Linked DNA regions of Homo sapiens: regions 1, 2, 3, 4 and 5 are each linked to region 6. The links are contacts of gene promoters, found by promoter capture Hi-C in blood cells and fetal thymus (Javierre and others, 2016). All regions are on one chromosome and are shown on one strand. Each heading gives the region's core, a stretch centred on a gene start or on the middle of the fragment in contact. The rest is flanking DNA. Distances are from core to core; before and after follow the strand shown.

Region 1 (2,858 bases), core at 234-2,733, 200 kb after region 6:
ATAGGCATGAGCCACCATGCCCAGCCATAAGAGTGTTTTAAGAAAGTTGGCCAACGCTTTTGTAGAAAAATGCCCAGGAAGACTTCATCAGAGGGTCCTTCTCTACTGCTCATTCCTCCTATCAAACAAGGGCAATTTTGCAAGAGTTTTGATGGGAACTCATTAGGCATCTACCTTAAAAGTCTGATTTGGCTTCTTCTGACTTCATTTTCTAATCTTAAAAAATCCTTAAAGGGGGCTGGGCGTAGTAGCTCACGTGTATAATTGCAGCACTTTGGGAGGCCGAGGTGGGCGGATCACCAGAGGTCAGGAATTCAAGACCAGCCTAGCCAACATGGTGAAACCCCATCTCTACTAAAAATACAAAAATTAGCCAGGCATGGTGGTGGGCACCTGTAATGCCAGCTACTCCGGAGGCTGAGACAGAAGAATCGCTTGAACCCGGGAGGCAGAGGTTGCAGTGAGCTGAGATTGTGCCATTGCACATTGCGCTCCAGCCTGGGTGACAAGAGCAAAACTCCATCTCAAAAAAAACACAAAAATCCTTGAAGGGAACACATTTTTTTTTTTCAGTTAATAATGTAAAATAGACTGCAATGACATGGTTAAATTCCCAGGACCCTCAGTTCTTTAGAGGGGGTTGAGAGTGTCTTAAACTTGATGGAGCTTATGTTGAGAAATAAAGTTTATATTTTTTATTTTCATCTTTTAATTCCATGTTTTCACATACTTTTTGAAGTCCCCTTGTATATATTAACTATGCTAGTCGTTGGTGATAAAGAGAAATATAACACCAAGAGCTTATATTCTTGCAGGGGAAACAGCAATGTATGACTCTTAACTCAAACTAAAACATTACAATACATGTTTACTATTTAATCAAGGACACTCATTCTAGTTTTATTTCAGTCACTCAGGACTTTCAGGGATATCTGTCTTTTATTGATTTGAGTTTGCAACTTTTTTTTTCTTTTTTTCTTGAGATGGAGTTCTGTTCTTGTTGCCCAGGCTGGAGTGCAATGGTGCGATCTTAGCTCACTGTAACCTCCGCCACCCTGGTTCAAGCAATTCTCCTGCCTCAGCCTCCCAAGTGGCTGGGATTACAGGCATGGGCCACCACCCCCAGCTAATTTTTTTGTATTTTAGTAGAGACGGGGTTTCTCTGTGTTGGTCAGGCTGGTCTCAAACTTCTGACCTCAGGTGACGCGCCCACCTCCGCCTCCCAAAGTGCAGGGATTACAGGCGTGAGCCACCACATCTGGCCTTTTTTTTTTTTTTTCTTTTCATTTTTTAGAAACAGGGTCTCACTCTGTTGCCAAGGCTAGGGTGCAGTGGCGCCACCATAGCTCACTGCAGCCTCAAACTCCTGGCCTCAAGTGATCTTCCTGCTTCTGGGATTATAGTGCTGGGATTATAGGCATGAGCCACAGCACCCAGCCTGAGTTTGCAGCTTTTAAATATATTGGATTTCTGTAAGATTTAAGGTTCTCTGTTTTATAAGGCATGTAGGAGGAGTCATGTCATGGTATGCTGGGTGGACGAACTTGTGCATTGAGATTCTAATGAAAGTTAAGCCTGACCCTTAGGCTTCCGTGGCATCAGGATGGATCCAGTTGCATTTTCCACTTCTAGAATTAACAGCCTGGATGTCAACTATTTCTGCCTAAAGCATGTTACTCTCTGTCGACCTACAGGATGAACCATGGCTTTGTGTATGCATTGTAGGAATTTCTTATTTCAGCAATAAAGATCTCTTTTTGACCACCACAATCTTCTAGGGGCCTACAGCTCAGAAACCATTTCAGCTGAAGTTTTGAAATGACCCTTACTCAAAATAGAGTCCTGTGCCTGGATTCTGCAGTTTGAGTCAGGACTGTTAATCTGAATGACACAGTTGAGGAGCACAGGATTTTTGTGGCAAGTATGTCAGTGAACAATGACCTGACGTCTTTACTCCTTTTTCTTTTTTCAGATAACAGTACTGAATTTTGGGACACAGATATAAAATGGTTTTCTCTGTTGGAAAGTAGCAGCTGGCTTGACATAATCAGGTATTTCAAACCATTGTTTTACTCATGAATTTTGTAATTGTATAACTCAGGGTAGTAGATCAAACCGACAAATAATTTAACTGTTTGATATTTGACAGTTAAATATTCTTAGATCACATGTTCTACAGCTAGATTTTATATTTGCTACTTATTTCTGTGCACATTTGATAGGAATTTATGAACATGCCACCTGCTTACAAGGAGATGTACTCTACAGACAAGGCATTGAAAAAACACAGAAAGAGTGTGACAACCCAGAATTATTATTGAGGCAGCAGTGCTGGCCTCCAGGGAGGAAACTGAGGGTGAGAACAGGAGTGATACTGACTTTTCACTGAATACCTTTTTTAATCTTGTGTCTTACGCATATATTATCTGTGTTTTTAAAAACCATGATTAATGTCAGTTATTTTTGGTTTGGGAGTTAGGTTGAGAGTTCCAGAAAACAGTTATATTGCCTTTCCTACTTTCTATATTGAATAGCTCTTCTCTGTTGCCATTAAATAGAGGATATGGCAGAGAAAGGTGCAAAACAGAAATGATGATCAGGATGACAGAGTAGCTCTAATGCTAGGCTACATTTCAGGAGGGAGAGCAATGCTTCCTACTGCCTCACACACATTCTCCCTCCATTCTGAAGTGAGTACTGCGGAAAGGAGCCTTGGCCCTCCAGACACTGAACTGTGCTCCAGACATCCTGCTACACGTCTCATAATTTGAATATATAATGGCAGACAGGGATAAATGTTATGGAAGCAAAGAACCCTTCTTTGTGTGGGGTGGGCAGAGAAGGGTGAGCATCTCTAG
Region 2 (2,803 bases), core at 162-2,661, 220 kb after region 6:
GATCGTGCCACTGCACTCCGGCCTGGGTGATGGAGCAAGACCTCGTCTCAGAAAATTGGAAACTATTGACTAAGAGAAGTTTCTAGGTTTGCACTGAATTGTCTTTTGTACATACAGTGAATTGTTTTGCTGTTCTCCCCACTCCATATTAATGCAGGAGCCAGGTTGGTCTGTTAGGATGAACAAAGGTTGAGGGGAGGGCAGGATTCGTGCATCTGGGGGCCAAACACATGTTCCGTCTTGATTGCCTTAAGAGTTACTAGCGAGGTCAGTGTTAGGCTTGCAATAGGGATTTTAAAATACACTAACTAGTTCCTTAGCTACCTTCACATACATTCTATAGGCCTTCTTAAATTAGCACTAACCTCCACTTCCTTCTCTGCCCCATTGCCTCCCAAATATGCTATGGAGCTATTTTTGTTACCACGTTATAACGTGAATATTTATACAGTAGCCTCTTCAGGCTTTGTAATTTTCATTCCAAAAATGCCCGGTGTGATGCTTTACACTCTACAAAGTATGGTTTAAAGGCACAAGGTCATGGCCTTTGTCATAGCAGTTGAATGTGCATTGACATATTTTTCTATGATTTTTTAAAATTACAATAGAAAAATAAGCTGTTGTAACGTGTAAGGTCATGACAATTTTTGTATTTATATTTGAAATCAGATTTCTATAACTCGTATTTGTGTACAGAATTCTCAATGGATTTATATATTGTGAAATTTTTATCTGAGATTGGGATGTGGATTATGCTTAACAGTGAGAGCTGAAATGAGACCATTTACTTTGTTTAAAATGCTGTACTGTGCAAGTTTGGAAATGTAAATTAATTTACTGTATATAATATCTTGAGTTTGTTTATACCTCCAAGTTTTTACACTGAAGATAAACTAGCTTTAATTCAAAACTTTTTTTTTCTTTATAAGGGAATAAGCTGTTGAGCTAAACCTGTATACTTGTGCTTTTTATTTTCTGGATGCACAATGAAAGTTTATACTTGTATCTCACTGCATCATATCTGATTGCAGAAATTAAAGCACAATTTACAAGCAATACTGTACTTGGTGTGGTTGGTATAACACATGGAGTAATCCGTTTCATTCTTTCAGGAAATATTGAGCATGTACTGGGTACTTGGCAGGGCCAGTGGGGACAGCAGGGAAGAGTGCAGTTTGCGTTCTTGTGGGGCACAGGGAGGTTTGGTGGTGGGAACCGATAACCAAACAAATATTTATAATAGGTGATTTGCAGTTACATGTATATCACAGCACTATTCACAATAGCAAAGACATGGAATCAACCCAGGTGCCCATCAGTGATGGATTGGATCAGGAAAATGTGGTACATATACACCATGGGATACTATACAGCTATAAAAAAGAATGGAATCACGTCCTTTGCGGCAACATGGATGCAGCTGGAGTCCATTATCCTAAGTGAATTAATGCAGAAACAGAAAACCAAATACTGAATGTTCTCATAAGTGGGAGCTAAACATTGGGTATTGGACGTAAAGATAAGAACAACAGACACGGGACTCAAAATGGGGAGGGAGTCAGGGAAGGGTTGAAAAACCACCTATTGGGTACTGTGTTCACCATTTGAGTGATGGGTTCAATTGAAGCCCAAACTTCAGCATCACGCAATATACCCATGTAATAAACCTGCACATGTACCCTCTGAATCTAAGGTAAAAATAATAAAAAATCTAGCTGACACTGTGGCTCACGCCTGTAATACCAGCACTTTGGGAGGCCGAGGCGGGCGGATCACCTGAAGTGTCGGGAGTTCAAGACCAGCCTGGCAACGTGGTGAAACCCTGTCTCTACTAAAAATACAAAATTAGCTGGGTGTGGTGGCGCATGCCTGTGATCCCAGCTACTTGGGAGGATGAGGCAGGAGAATCGCTTGAACCTGAGAGGTGGAGGTTGCAGTGAGCCAAGATAGCACCACGGCACTCCAGCCTGGGCAACAGAGGAGGGCTCTGTCTGAAAAGAAAAAAAAATCCCAGGTGATGATAAAATGCTGAAGAAAAAATAGGGTGGGGATAGGGTGATTAAAAGAAAAGAGTTTTTAACCCTGAAATTAAATATTATTACCTCTCTGCTTTTTGTGGGGATCTGTAAAATTAGAATTCTGTTACTCTGGAATAAAAATTGCTGGAAGAGATCTGAGTACATTTAAACCATGAAAGATAGAAAAAGGCTTTGTTTTTGCTTTCAGAGAGGTTAAGTGAGCGAGCACAGGGTAAGATGGCTTATGAGAGTAGGATTTGTTTCTAATTCGTTTTAATACTTAACTAGATTGAGACATAGCACTTTGTATGTTCTGAGAAACAAGGCTCATATTTCTTTGACCTTTCCTACCTACAGAGGAGGCTTCCCACTCTGCTGCTTGTCCCCATCCCCCTTTCCTATCTGGCCAGCACACTATGTCCAGAAAGCTAGCTCTGAGACACCCCTGGAATTTAATAAGCTCTCATGGATGCCACGTGCTTTTCAGATGTTTTGCTTCTTTGGTGTTTGTATTAAATTCCCAAGTAGTAGTTGTGACCGTAGAGTTTAGCAGCTTCTCGTCTTATTTTCCACATTTGTTTAGCTCTTGTACTTTTGGTGGACTTAGCTGTCTCTCACTCTTGATTTTGCTTGTTCCTTGATGTCCAGGTGAGGGCATGGAGGGACTTGGGGAGTAAAGAGTGGAATGTTCTCCGTCCAGTGTGAAACAGGGTGGGGGGTCGGCTCCTGTTGGGAACTAGCCCCTGTGCCTTCACGTCCCCTATCATTAAGGGAGTTGGAGGCAG
Region 3 (2,847 bases), core at 258-2,757, 180 kb after region 6:
TCCAAGGAATGGAACTCAGTTCCTACAATGTAAAAAGACAGCTGGCCTGGCGCGATGGCTCACTCCTGTAATCCCAGCACTTTGGGCACCTGAGGCAGGTGGATCACTTGAGGTCAGGAGTTTGAGGCCAACCTGGCCAACATGGTGAAACCCCGTCTCTACTAAAAATACAAAAATTAGCCATATGTGGTGGTGCGTTCCTGTAGTCCCAGCTACTCATGAGGCTAAGGCGGGAGAATCACTTTAACCTGGCAGGCGGAGGTTGCAGTAAGCCAAGATGGCACCACTGGCCACTGCACTCCAGCAGGGGCAGTAGAGCAAGACTCCATCTCAAAAAAAAAAAAAAAAGAGACTCAGTCATAATTTTGGATTAATGACAAAAAATGGAACAAGGTTAGGATTAAGCAATCAATTCATTCTGCTTGGATAAAAATGGGCTTAGTGGAGGAAACCAAAACCTAAGGAGGGACTTTCACATAATAAAAGCACCAGTGCTTCATGGAAAGATTTTATTGTCTTTTACATTTTGTTCTCTTAGTCACTGATCCCAAGAACCATACCGTAATGTTTGACACACTTAAGGACTGGTGTTGGGAACTGGAACGGACCAAAGGCAACATGAAGTACAAAGCAGTGAGTGTCAACGAAGGCTATAAAGTCTGTGAGAGGTAAGCTTTCCATGCTGGGCACATGCTGTACAATTCACCCATTAAAAGTGTACAGTGTTTTTTAGTATATTCACAGGGTTGTGCAGTCATCACCACAGTCAATTTAGAACATTTTCATCCTCCCAAAAAGAAACTCCATACCCATTGGCTGTCACTCCCCATTTTCCCCGAATACCTCTCTTTCTTCCCCAGTCCTAGACAACCACTAATCTACTTTCTATCACTATAGACTTGCCTGTTGTGAACATTTCATATAAATGGAATCATATCATATGTGATCTTTTATGACTTGGTTCTTTCACTTAGCATGATGTTTTCAAAGTCTGTTTATTTTGCAGCTTGTATCAGAATCTCATTCTTTTTTATTGCCAAGTAATGTTCCATAATGTGGATATAGCACATTTAATTTATCCATCTATTAGTTGATGGACTATTGGATTATTTTCACTTTTTGGCTCTTTGAATAATGTTTTTTGGTTTTTTGTTTTTGTTTTTGTTTTTGTTTGAGACAGGGTCTTGCTCCGACACCTATGCTGCACCATGCTGGAGTGCAGTGGTGCCATCTCGGCTCACTGCAACCTCCGTCTCGGCTCAAGTGATTCTCCCACCTCAGCCTCCTGAGTAGCTGGGACCACAGGCGTGCACCACCATGCCTGTCTAATTTTTCTGCTTTTTGTAGAGATGGGGTTTCACCATGTTGCCCAGGCTGGTTTTGAACTCCTGGGCTCAAGCGATCCTCTCACCTCGGCCTTCCAAACTTCTAGGATTACAGGCATGAGCCATCATGCCTGGCCATGAATAATATTGATATGAACATTCAATTATAAATTTTTGTGTAGATGTATGTTTTTATTTTTCTTGGGTATATTACCTAGAAGTGGACTGCCAGATCCTGTGGAAATTTGTGTTTACCCTTTTGAGGCACTCACAGACTTTTTCACAGAGACTGTTCCATTTTATATTCCTACCAACAGTGTATGAGAGTTTCTTCCTCCACATCAATACTAGCTTTTTATTATGTACTTATTTATTATTCATTTTAAGATGGGGTCTCTCTCTGTCCCCCAGGCTGGAGTGCAGTGGCGTGATCTCGGTCCACTGTAAGCTCCGCCTCCTGGGTTCACGCCATTCTCCTGCCTCAGCCTCCTGAGTAGCTTGGACTACAGGCACCTGCCGCCACGCCTGGCTAATTTTTTGTGTTTTTAGTAGAGACAGGGTTTCACCCTGTTAGCCAGGATGGTCTTGATCTCCTGACCTTGTGATCTGCCCGCCTCGGCCTCCCAAAGTGCTGGGATTACAGGTGTGAGCCATTGCGCCCGGCCTTTTTCTTCCCTTTTATTGAGCACTTCTTTTATTCATTCACCAAAAATTTTTGACTGCCTTCCATTTGCTTGGCAGTGTCCTAGCTATTAGAGATGGCAGCAGTCAACAGGGCACCTGAAAACCTCTGCCCTCTTGGAGCTATCATTCTGGAGGGAGGAAGATGATGGTAGAATAAAGAAGTAAATTATAGCATGTTAATAGATAAGTGCTATGGAGAAAATCAGATCCAGCACATGGTTAGGGAGTGCTGGAGGTGATGGTGGGAGGGTTGGTCAGGAAGGTTTTACATGGTGGAAGTAAGGTTTTGCATGGTGGCTTGTAAGCATAGTCGTAAAGGAAGTGAAAGCTTGAGTCAGAGGACACCCGAGGGAGGAGCATTCCAGGTGGAGGGAGGAGTAAGAGCAAAGGCCTGGGGGAGGAACAGCAAGGTGCCCAGGGATGGGGGAGGAGCAAGCTAGGGAGAGGAGTGGGAGATGATGGGCCCAGAGACTTTGATGGGAGGACAGTGAGAGGGAGGCTGAGTAGAAGCAGACATGATCTGACCTACATGTTTTTTTGAGACTGAGTCTCACTCTGTCACCCAGGCTGAAGTGCAGTGGTGCTATCTCGGCTCACCGCAACCTCTGCCTCCTGGGTTCAAGTGATTCTCCTGCCTCAGCCTCTTGAGTAGCTGGGATTACAGGCGCCTGCCACCACGCCCCACTAATTTTTGTATTTTTAGTAGAGATGGGGTTTCACAATGTTGGCCAGGCTGGTCTTGAACTCCTGACCTCAAGTGATCTGCCTGCCTCAGCCTCCCAAAGTGCTGGGATTACACGCGTGAGCCACTGCGCCTGGCTGACCTACATTTTTAAAG
Region 4 (2,777 bases), core at 59-2,558, 160 kb after region 6:
GGTGTGTGCCACCACACCCGGCTAATTTTTGTATTTTTAGTAGAGACGGGGTTTCACCATGTTGGCCAGGCTGGTCTCAAACTCCTGACCTCAAGTGATCCACCTACCTCGGCCTCCCAAAGTGCTGGGATTACAGGCGTGAGCCACTGTGCCTGGCCCATGCTTCTGTTCTAATTGAATTTAAGCCCCACTGAGATATTCTAGTTTAGAAAACCTGGACGTGCTGTGATCCTGGTGCCAGCAGTTTTTGCCTTTCCTTTGTGCCATAATGGCAAGCTTTGTTCAAATTCAAATGGAGCAGCAAGAGGTGGTATACAAAGCACAAAGACCATTTTTAACTGATGCATTTGTTGAAAATTTCCATAATTTTCAGAGTTAGTTTTTTAAGAAAAGTCTGTCAGCCTAACCAGTAGAACCAGTTCTGCTTGAGTATTAAAGAACTATACCTTTTCTACCTTTTTGCTGCACATTGAACATGATAGTTAGTGGAATAAGTGAGGAATGTTACCTCGTGTTTCACAGCTGCAGAAGTAAGGTTGTCAACATCTACTAACTAGGTAGTTGGTAGGGAGTGTCAGAGTTAAAGGCGCAGAGGCTTAAGGGCAACTCTAGACCCTTCTGTAAAACTAGTTTATGGTTTAAGAAGCTCCCACCACCCCAAAGAATAGGGATAGTACACAGGCAGCTCTCACTGGATGCTGATTGAATTGGCTGTTAGATCCTGGGATGTGCTGGGCCTATCTACTGCTCTCTCTGAAAAGGCTTCACAAGTAATAGTCTTTCCATTAAGCTTTAGAGGAATCCTCCGTTTTTCAGTATATTGCAATATGAGTAGAGCATTTGGTGATGCCATCCATATTAGTGGCTAAGCCTAGCTATTGTTTCTTTTCTATTCTTTTTTTTTTTTTTTTTTTTTGAGACAGGGTCTTGTTCTGTCACCCAGGCTGGAGTACAGTGGTGCAATCATAGCTCACTGCAGCCTTGACCTCCCAGGCTGAGGTGATTCTCCCGCCCCAGCCTTCTGAGTAACTGGGACTACAGGCACATGCCACCATGCCTGGCTAATTAAAAAAAAAAAAAATTTTTTTTTGTGGAAATGGGGTTTGGCCATGTTGCCCAGGCTAGTCTCGAATTCTTAAGCTCAAGTGATCCGGTCCATCCACCTTGGCCTCCAACAGTGCTGTGATTACAGGCATAAGCCACCGCGCCTGGCCAAGATTATATACTCTTGAAAGGAAGCAAGAATTGCTCAGGCATACATACCAGTGTTATTCATGGTTAGAGCCTTTCCTGGAGTCCCATTGAACTCTTGAGTCAGTTGGCTTGAAAATTAGAGACTCATGCCTCAGAGGACCCAGTGGAGTGAGTCATAAGAGGTAACACTTTCAGTAGGTGTTGAGGAGCCTCAAGGTTCTTCTCCATGCAGCTGGCCAGTGTCACTTAGGTTGGGTGTAGGTGTCTTTTGTTGTTGTTTTCCCTTTAGCTTCCCTTGGCCTCTCTATAACTCTCATTCGAGGCTTTCCCTGGTCACTTTGTGTTGCTCGCTTTTACCTGGTTTCAGGTGGATCTAGCAGGTACTTCACTGATCATTCTGCCTTGTTTTTCCTTTTTCCTTTCATTCCTTCTTTCCACATGACAGTGTGGCATTGAATAAGAATGCAGACTGGGCCAGGAACGCAGACTGCGCACAGGGTTTGACTTTCACCTGTGCCACATACTAGCAGGGTGTCTTCATCTGTAAAATGGAGACAATCATGGGTATAATAACTCTATTGCAAAGGTTTGCTGTGAGGATTAAATGAGTTAATAAATAAATACAAAGCTTTTTAGACAGTAGCTGGCACTTAGAGCCCAAGAAATGTTTGTTATTATTCACTTCTCAACCTCAGTAAGGGCTGGCCCTGTACCCACTTTGGAAAAAGGAACAGTAGACTTTGGCGTTCACAGATTGGACATCTGTGATGTCTACAGTCCACAAGTGACTCTTGGTCACAGTGTAGTAATTTGTAATGCCACTAAGAAAGAGATTATATTTACTCATTCAATTGTAAAGTTTGGACAGCCTTTAATCACTCACCCAACAAATTTGCCAATGAAAACAACAGCTTATACACATTCAGAATACAGCATGGTTAGGAGTAGGATGCACATAGGGGAATTTCAGGGGAACCCACTCCAAGATCCACATGTAGGACTCAGCACATCCAGATACGGGTGCTCTCGTACCTTGTTGGTATCCACCTCTGCTCTCCTTCATTCAGCTATGTTCATTCTCCTGTGATCAACAAGCAAAGAATGGTAAATCCGTTTTCTCTTAAGAATATTGAAATATATTAGCTCCATATTTGTCAGTTCTTTCTTTGTTTTTCTTGTGGAGTTCAAAAAGCGATTGTGAAATATAGGGATGAAGAGACTACAGACATTGCCAGTGAATACTCTCCGTTCCGTCCTTCCTACCCACCCAAACAGGTAACTTGTGAAAATCAAATTCAAAGAAAAACTCCAATTAAACTTATTTTTGAGGCAAGGATTTCTTTATGATTCTTATTTGTATACCCTGATTTTTTGGAGTCCTCTAGGTTATTTCTCTTCTTGGGACTGGTTTGGATTTTTGTTTGAGGGGGGAAGCAGTTGATAGTGGTGATGATGGTTATTTGTTTTTTACCTGAGTTGATTATCTGTAAGACTTGCATAGTGTATATTTATAATTTTTTTGAAGTGTTAACCAGAAAGGATTAGATACTCATGATGATTTTTATTTTTTATTTTATTTATTT
Region 5 (2,822 bases), core at 17-2,516, 130 kb before region 6:
CCTCAGGTGATCTGCCCGCCTTGGCCTCCCAAAGTGCTGGGATTACAGGCGTGAGCCACTGCGCCCAGCCATTTTTGTTTGTTTGTTTTCTTATTTACCAGGGATGCTGTTAAATAGGATAGTTTTCTAATAAAACTTGCCCATTTTAAACAATCTATATGAATTCACATTTCTTTAGGTCATTTATGTAATTTTTATTAATTCTTCAGTATTCTGACTAGGAGCTCACCTATAAAGCCAAATTAGAAGCCTTAATTCAATAGTGTAAATATCTTTGTGTCAATTCCACACAGAAAGCAGAGATTTTGTCCTCATAACATGTTATCAAGGAGTTAATGCTAAATCCAAGCAGAACCCGAGATGTGCAGAAAGGATGCTGCTATCCATGGTGATTTAAGGAGAAAGCAGGTAGAACTAGTAAATGTGTCTCAAAAGTGATTCTCCAAGAGGGACTGGGAGAGTCTTGCCTTGTGAAAAGACACTTAGAGAATGCATAGCCAGATCTCTGGGTCCTTTGGTGCAAAGTCCACTGGGCATTTACACTTCTGATTTAGAAAATCAATCAACTGCCAAACTTATCTACTATGTGCGATCACTGAGCTTGACTTTAGGAACAAAGAAATCCAAGGGGGAGTTGGCAGCATCTTCAGAGCACCTCCTATATTCCGGGCACTTATGCATGTCATCTCATTGTATTCACATTAAGCCTGGGAGAGAGGTGTTTTATTCCATTATAGAAAGGAAGAAACTGTACTCAGATTGGTGAAGGGAGTTACCTGAGTTAGTTGGTTGAATTGTAACCCCCCTCAAAAAATCTACCCAAGTCCTAACCCCAGTACCTGTGATTGTGACTACATTTGAAAATAGGGTCTTTGCAGATGTAATCACATTATGACAAAGTCATACTAAATTAGGATGGGCTTCAAATACAGTGACCTGTGTCTTTACCAGAGAAAGCAGAAAGACACTTGGATGCATCTTACAAGCCGAGGAACACCAAGGATTGCGGGCAGGCACCAGAAACTAGGCAGAGGCAAGGGAGGACTCTTCCCTAAAGCTTTCAGGAGGAGCATGGCCCTCCCGTTGCCTTGATTTTCGACTTCTACCCTCCAGAACTTTAAGATAATAAATTTCTGTTGATTGATTGATTGATTTTTTGAGACAGAATCTTGTTCTAGTCGCCCAGGCTGGAGTTCAGTGGCATGATCTCGCCTCACTGCAATCTCTGCCTCCTAGGTTCAAGCAGTCAGTTCTCCTGTCAGCCTCACAAGTAGCTGGGATTACAGGCGTCTGCCACCACACTTGGCTAATTTTTGCATTTTTAGTAGAGACAGGGTTTTACCATGTTGGCCAGGCTGGTCTCAAACTCCTGACCTCAAGTGATCCACCTACCTCAGCCTCCCAAAGTGCTGGAATTACAGGCATGAGCCACCATGCCTGGCCAAATTTCTGTTGATTTAAACTACGAAGCTTGTGACAATTTATTACAGTCTTAGGACACAAAGATACCAGTGTCACACAGCGGCTAAGTAGCAGTGCTGGAATTTGATCCCAGTTGTTTGCTTTGCAAATACCAAACATAACCCATATACCATGATATCAAGGGGGGATTTTGTTGCCACATGATTTCTGAACCTATTCAAGGCTGTCCTAGACATTATGAGCCAAGGAGAAGTGGTAAACTGCCTGAATTCAACCTAAGAGTTACAGATGCCCAAGCTGCATTCTCTCAGAGAACTGATACATGGGGAGCTGCATAGAGGCATGGAAAGGTTGCTAAAGAGCTGGGTCCAGAGACCTACAGTGATATTGACCATAACAGGGCAAGGGCAAGTCATTTTACCTCCCTGGGTCTCAGTTTCCTGTTCCCATCAGAGGTCAGGTTAAATATTCCATGGGATCCCAGACAACTGTGTAACCAGTTGGCTGGCCCACCCCAGACCTTTTTAAAAAACTTTTTGGACAGGCGCAGTGGCTCATGCCTGTAATCCCAGCACTTTGGGAGGCCGAGGTGGGTGGATCACAAGATCAGGAGTTCCAGACCAGCCTGCCCAACATAGTGAAACCCCATCTCCACTAAAAAAATATAAAAATTAGCCGGGCATGGTGGTGTGTGCCTGTAATCCCAGCTACTTGGGAGGCTGAGGCAGGAGAATTGCTTGAATCCGGGAGGCAGAGGTTGCAGTGAGTTGAGATCGCACTACTACACTCCAGCCTAGGCAACAGAGCAAGTCTCCGTCTCAAAAAAAAAAAAAATTCAATAGCTGTAAGGGTTCAGTGGTTTTTGGCTACACAGATGAATTGTATAGTGGTGAAGTCTGAGCTTTTAGTGTACCTGTCACCTGAATAATGTACATTGAACCCAATAGTGAAACATTTTAATTTCTACTTTTCTTTCTTTCTTTGGTCAGTAAGTTTTATTTTAATTTTTTTTTAATGTTTTGCCATTGGATTAGTTACATCTCCATTTAAATGTTTCTTCTTGTATCTATTCATTTTCAGGCATTAGAAGTTAAAATAATGGAAATAGGGCTGGGAATGGTGGCTCATGCCTGTAATCCCAGCACTTTGGGAGGCAGAGGAGAGTGGATCACTTGAGCCCAGGAGTTTGAGACCAGCCTGAGCAACAAAGTGAAACCCCCATCTCTACAAAAAATAGAAAAATTAGCCGGCCATGGTGGCATGTGCTTGTAGTCCCAACTACTCGGGAGGCTGAGGTGGGAGGATGACTTGAGCCAAGGAGGTCAAGGCCTGCAGTGAGCTGTAATTGCTCCACTGGCCAGCCTGGGCAACAGAGTGAGACCCTGTCTCAAAAAAAAAAA
Region 6 (2,866 bases), core at 144-2,643:
TTTTTTTTTTCTTTTTTTTTGAGACGGGGTTTCACCATGTTGGCCACTGACCTCACCTCGTGATCCACCCGCCTCGGCCGCCCAAAGTGTTGGGATTACAGGCGTGAGCCACCGCGCCCGGCCAGCATTTCCTTTTAATGTTCATATCCAACAATGAGGAGAGATGAGGAGCAGGGAGTCTGGGGGATGGGCATGGAGAAGGTAAGGAAGAGGTGAAATGCAGGCAGTACATATGTACTTGATGGAAGACACGAAACATAAGGCCAGAGAAACTAGACGATCAGAAGAGGGACTGGAAGAGGAAAGAGAATGGTTGAAAACGAACTGAGAAACTAAAGGGAAGAAAGCGAGGAAACAGAGGGAAAGAGGAAATGCTTACATGGGGGCAAGTACTGTTCTGTCCTTACCACTAAAGATCTGGCACGTGATCTGGTCTCCCTCTCACTTGACTCCAGCCAGACTGATCTTCTTGCTCTTGAACATTCATTCCTTCATCTGGACCCTTCCACTTGCTGCTCTTCCTGCAGGCATCTCCCAGGCCTGTCCTTCCTTCCTTCAAGTGGTCTCCCTAACCACACTCTACATGAAATAGCACCTCCCTTACCCTTATTTTCCTTACTCTGCTTTATTTATGCTTGAAGCTCCAGTCACCATCAGACAGAATTTCTGTGTTTTGGCTACCGGCTGTTGGCTGACATATACCCGCTCCTAGAACGTAAACTCCACGGGAACAGGGACTTTGTTTTGTTCTCTGCCGTATCTCCAGCACCTACAACACTGCCTGACACCCTGCTGGGTGACCGATATACGCCGGATGGCTCAGGGAGTGGGTGCAGGTCGAGGAAAGGGTATAGCAAGAGGTATGTCCGGGAGGGATGTTTAGGGTGTGCTTTTAGTCCAACAGAAAAGCACTCTCCATCCTTTTTCTATTTCTCTCCTCTCCTTCTCCCTCCCTCCGCACTTCAGAGGTTGGGGAAAAGCTGCGGGAAAGCAGGAAATAAGGAAAAATCCTAAATTGCCCAGCTCGAATTCCAATGAAAAATTAATGAGCGAGGAAGACAGGGAGGCAGGGAATAAGTGCACATGCAAAAGTTAAGGAAGCCAGTGGAAAGCAAAGAAAAAGGCGAACAGACGTCACTCTCTCTGGTCACGCTCCCCGACTCCCCAGAGGACAGGCGAGGCGCTTCTGGCACACGCCCCCGTCGCCCCGCGGCCGCGCGGCGTCACCACCACTTCGGAGAAGGCCAGGCCCCTCTTCCCCCGCGGGCTTCCCCGCGCCCGCACCGCCGAGGCCCCGGCACGCGCCCGGGGGAGCCGCGAAGACGGCGGGGACTACAGCTCCCAGGATGCCGAGCACAGGCGCGCCTGCGCAGTGCGGTCGGAGGCGGCGGTCTGTTCTCCGCTGAGGAGGAGCGGGGCAGAGGAGGGAGGCAGCGGGTGAGAGTTCAGAGTTCAGCAGCAGCAGCCCGAGCCCATGATTCCCATATGCCCTGTAGTTTCTTTCACCTATGGTGAGTCTAATGTGGCCCGCGAGGCCTCTGCCCGGCCCCCTCCCTGGCCCCGGGCAGCGGGGAGCCGCGGGGGTTGGGGCAGGCTCCGGGGAGGAGGCGGCGGCCGCCACCCGGGCGTGCGAGTGAGTGAGGGAGTGCGAGGCGGGAGGGGGAGGCGGCGCGGCCGCGGCCTGGGCCCCGCCAGGGCTGCTCTCACGGCGCCTCTCTCTTTCTCTCCCTGCCCTCCCTCGGCGTCTCGGCTCCTCTGTGTCTCTTGTCCCGCCATGGGACCCGACTCTTCGTGCCCGCCGCAGTGCCCAGCCGGCTGGGGGAAGATGCCAAAATGGCGACCGGCAACTACTTTGGATTCACCCACAGCGGGGCGGCGGCGGCGGCGGCTGCGGCCCAATATAGGTAACGGCATCCTGCCTTCTCTCTGTTCGCCCCTTGCTCTCCCCTCGGTCCGGATCCTGTCGATGCGACGCCCCCGCGCCCGTCCCCAGCCATCCCAGAGCCCCGGCCCGCTGCAGGCCTGGCCCGGCCCAGCCCGGCGGCCTCTCCCGCCCCGCCCCGCCCCGCCCCGCCTTGCCCGGCCCGGCCCGGCCCGCGGCGGGGAGCGGCCCCCAGTAGGGGGGAGGTAGAGACGGCGGAGGTGTAGGGACGTGGAGGCCTCAGGGCCCTTCAGCGGCCCCTTAACTAAAATGGCCTCCTGCGGCCGCCGAGCGGAGCCGCCACCGCCGCCCGGCAGGCCCCCCAGTCCCCGCCTCCGCGCGTCCAGCCCCCACCTCCCATCTTCTTCCCACTTGGGGGATGGAGAGGGTGGCTGAAGGGACCTCACGGGGAGTGCCGTGTCGCAGGTCCACTGGCTTCTCGTGCGACGCCTCTCTGCGTCGTCGCCTGGTGCTTCAACCCCCGGAGCCCAGATAACGTGTCGTTGTCTCGGGTACCTTTTCCTCCGCCGTGGGGCTTCTTCCCCAGACGCTCCATCGCTAGCGAGTCCTGCTGACAAACTGCGGGTGTCACTGTGTTCATCGGGTTCCTTTAGTTTTTCCTGCAAGGAGAGAGATTCACATACCAACCACCTGTAAATTGTGTAGTTCTTAGACTGGAAAAGATGTGCGAAGTTTCTAGTGCTGATAAATGAGTGCCCAGCCTTGTTTGAGCTATGGAGTTTAGGCCCCAGGTGGGCCTGTCATTCTCCTTGCGGGGGTCTTTCCCCTGCGGGGAATGGTGGGGAGGGAAGAAGATGCAAGTGAGATTGTACTGAGTCATTGTAATGCACCGGATGAAATCCCTGCTTTAAGGGAAGCTCTCATTTCTGAAGTCTGTAGTTCATTATACATCTTACCAAAGACAAACACAACAGTGGATTGTTA

Evidence for each region. The method cuts DNA at HindIII sites, captures the fragments that hold promoters and counts their contacts. A CHiCAGO score of 5 or more calls a contact.
Region 1: a fragment that was not itself captured here is called in contact with the fragment with the promoter of ZFR in region 6 in 5 of 17 cell types (fetal thymus, total B cells, activated CD4 T cells and 2 more); the score reaches 8.2 in fetal thymus.
Region 2: a contact is called between a fragment that was not itself captured here and the fragment with the promoter of ZFR in region 6, in 5 of 17 cell types (activated CD4 T cells, total B cells, naive B cells and 2 more). The highest score is 7.4, in activated CD4 T cells.
Region 3: a contact is called between a fragment that was not itself captured here and the fragment with the promoter of ZFR in region 6, in 3 of 17 cell types (total B cells, non-activated CD4 T cells and naive B cells). The highest score is 6.8, in total B cells.
Region 4: a contact is called between a fragment that was not itself captured here and the fragment with the promoter of ZFR in region 6, in 2 of 17 cell types (total B cells and naive B cells). The highest score is 5.9, in total B cells.
Region 5: a contact is called between a fragment that was not itself captured here and the fragment with the promoter of ZFR in region 6, in 6 of 17 cell types (total B cells, total CD8 T cells, naive B cells and 3 more). The highest score is 8.5, in total B cells.

The regions. Positions count from the first base shown.
Region 1 is chr5:32,242,714-32,245,571 of GRCh38, reverse strand. It overlaps MTMR12 (myotubularin related protein 12), which reads left to right. Exons shown (of 16, transcript NM_001040446.3): 11 at 1,973-2,051. Among named protein-coding and RNA genes, the nearest start is that of MTMR12, 69 kb to the left of the region's middle. The HindIII fragment of the contact is 5,337 bases long and covers 1-2,858 here.
Region 2 is chr5:32,225,260-32,228,062 of GRCh38, reverse strand. MTMR12 (myotubularin related protein 12) reads left to right here. Exons shown (of 16, transcript NM_001040446.3): 16 at 1-1,056. Among named protein-coding and RNA genes, the nearest start is that of GOLPH3, 52 kb to the right of the region's middle. The HindIII fragment of the contact is 4,467 bases long and covers 1-2,803 here.
Region 3 is chr5:32,260,934-32,263,780 of GRCh38, reverse strand. It overlaps MTMR12 (myotubularin related protein 12), which reads left to right. Exons shown (of 16, transcript NM_001040446.3): 7 at 539-668. Among named protein-coding and RNA genes, the nearest start is that of MTMR12, 51 kb to the left of the region's middle. RefSeq lists an enhancer at 2,362-2,461. The HindIII fragment of the contact is 1,664 bases long and covers 676-2,339 here.
Region 4 is chr5:32,282,457-32,285,233 of GRCh38, reverse strand. The region is part of intron 1 of MTMR12 (myotubularin related protein 12); the gene reads left to right. Among named protein-coding and RNA genes, the nearest start is that of MTMR12, 29 kb to the left of the region's middle. The HindIII fragment of the contact is 1,032 bases long and covers 793-1,824 here.
Region 5 is chr5:32,573,576-32,576,397 of GRCh38, reverse strand. No RefSeq gene overlaps it. Among named protein-coding and RNA genes, the nearest start is that of SUB1, 11 kb to the left of the region's middle. RefSeq lists an enhancer at 2,798-2,822. The HindIII fragment of the contact is 413 bases long and covers 1,060-1,472 here.
Region 6 is chr5:32,443,267-32,446,132 of GRCh38, reverse strand. It overlaps ZFR (zinc finger RNA binding protein), which reads left to right and starts at 1,393. Exons shown (of 20, transcript NM_016107.5): 1 at 1,393-1,511; 2 at 1,805-1,904. The coding sequence starts at 1,475. RefSeq lists silencers at 1,091-1,780, 2,011-2,350 and an enhancer at 1,742-2,299. The HindIII fragment of the contact is 7,512 bases long and covers 1-2,866 here.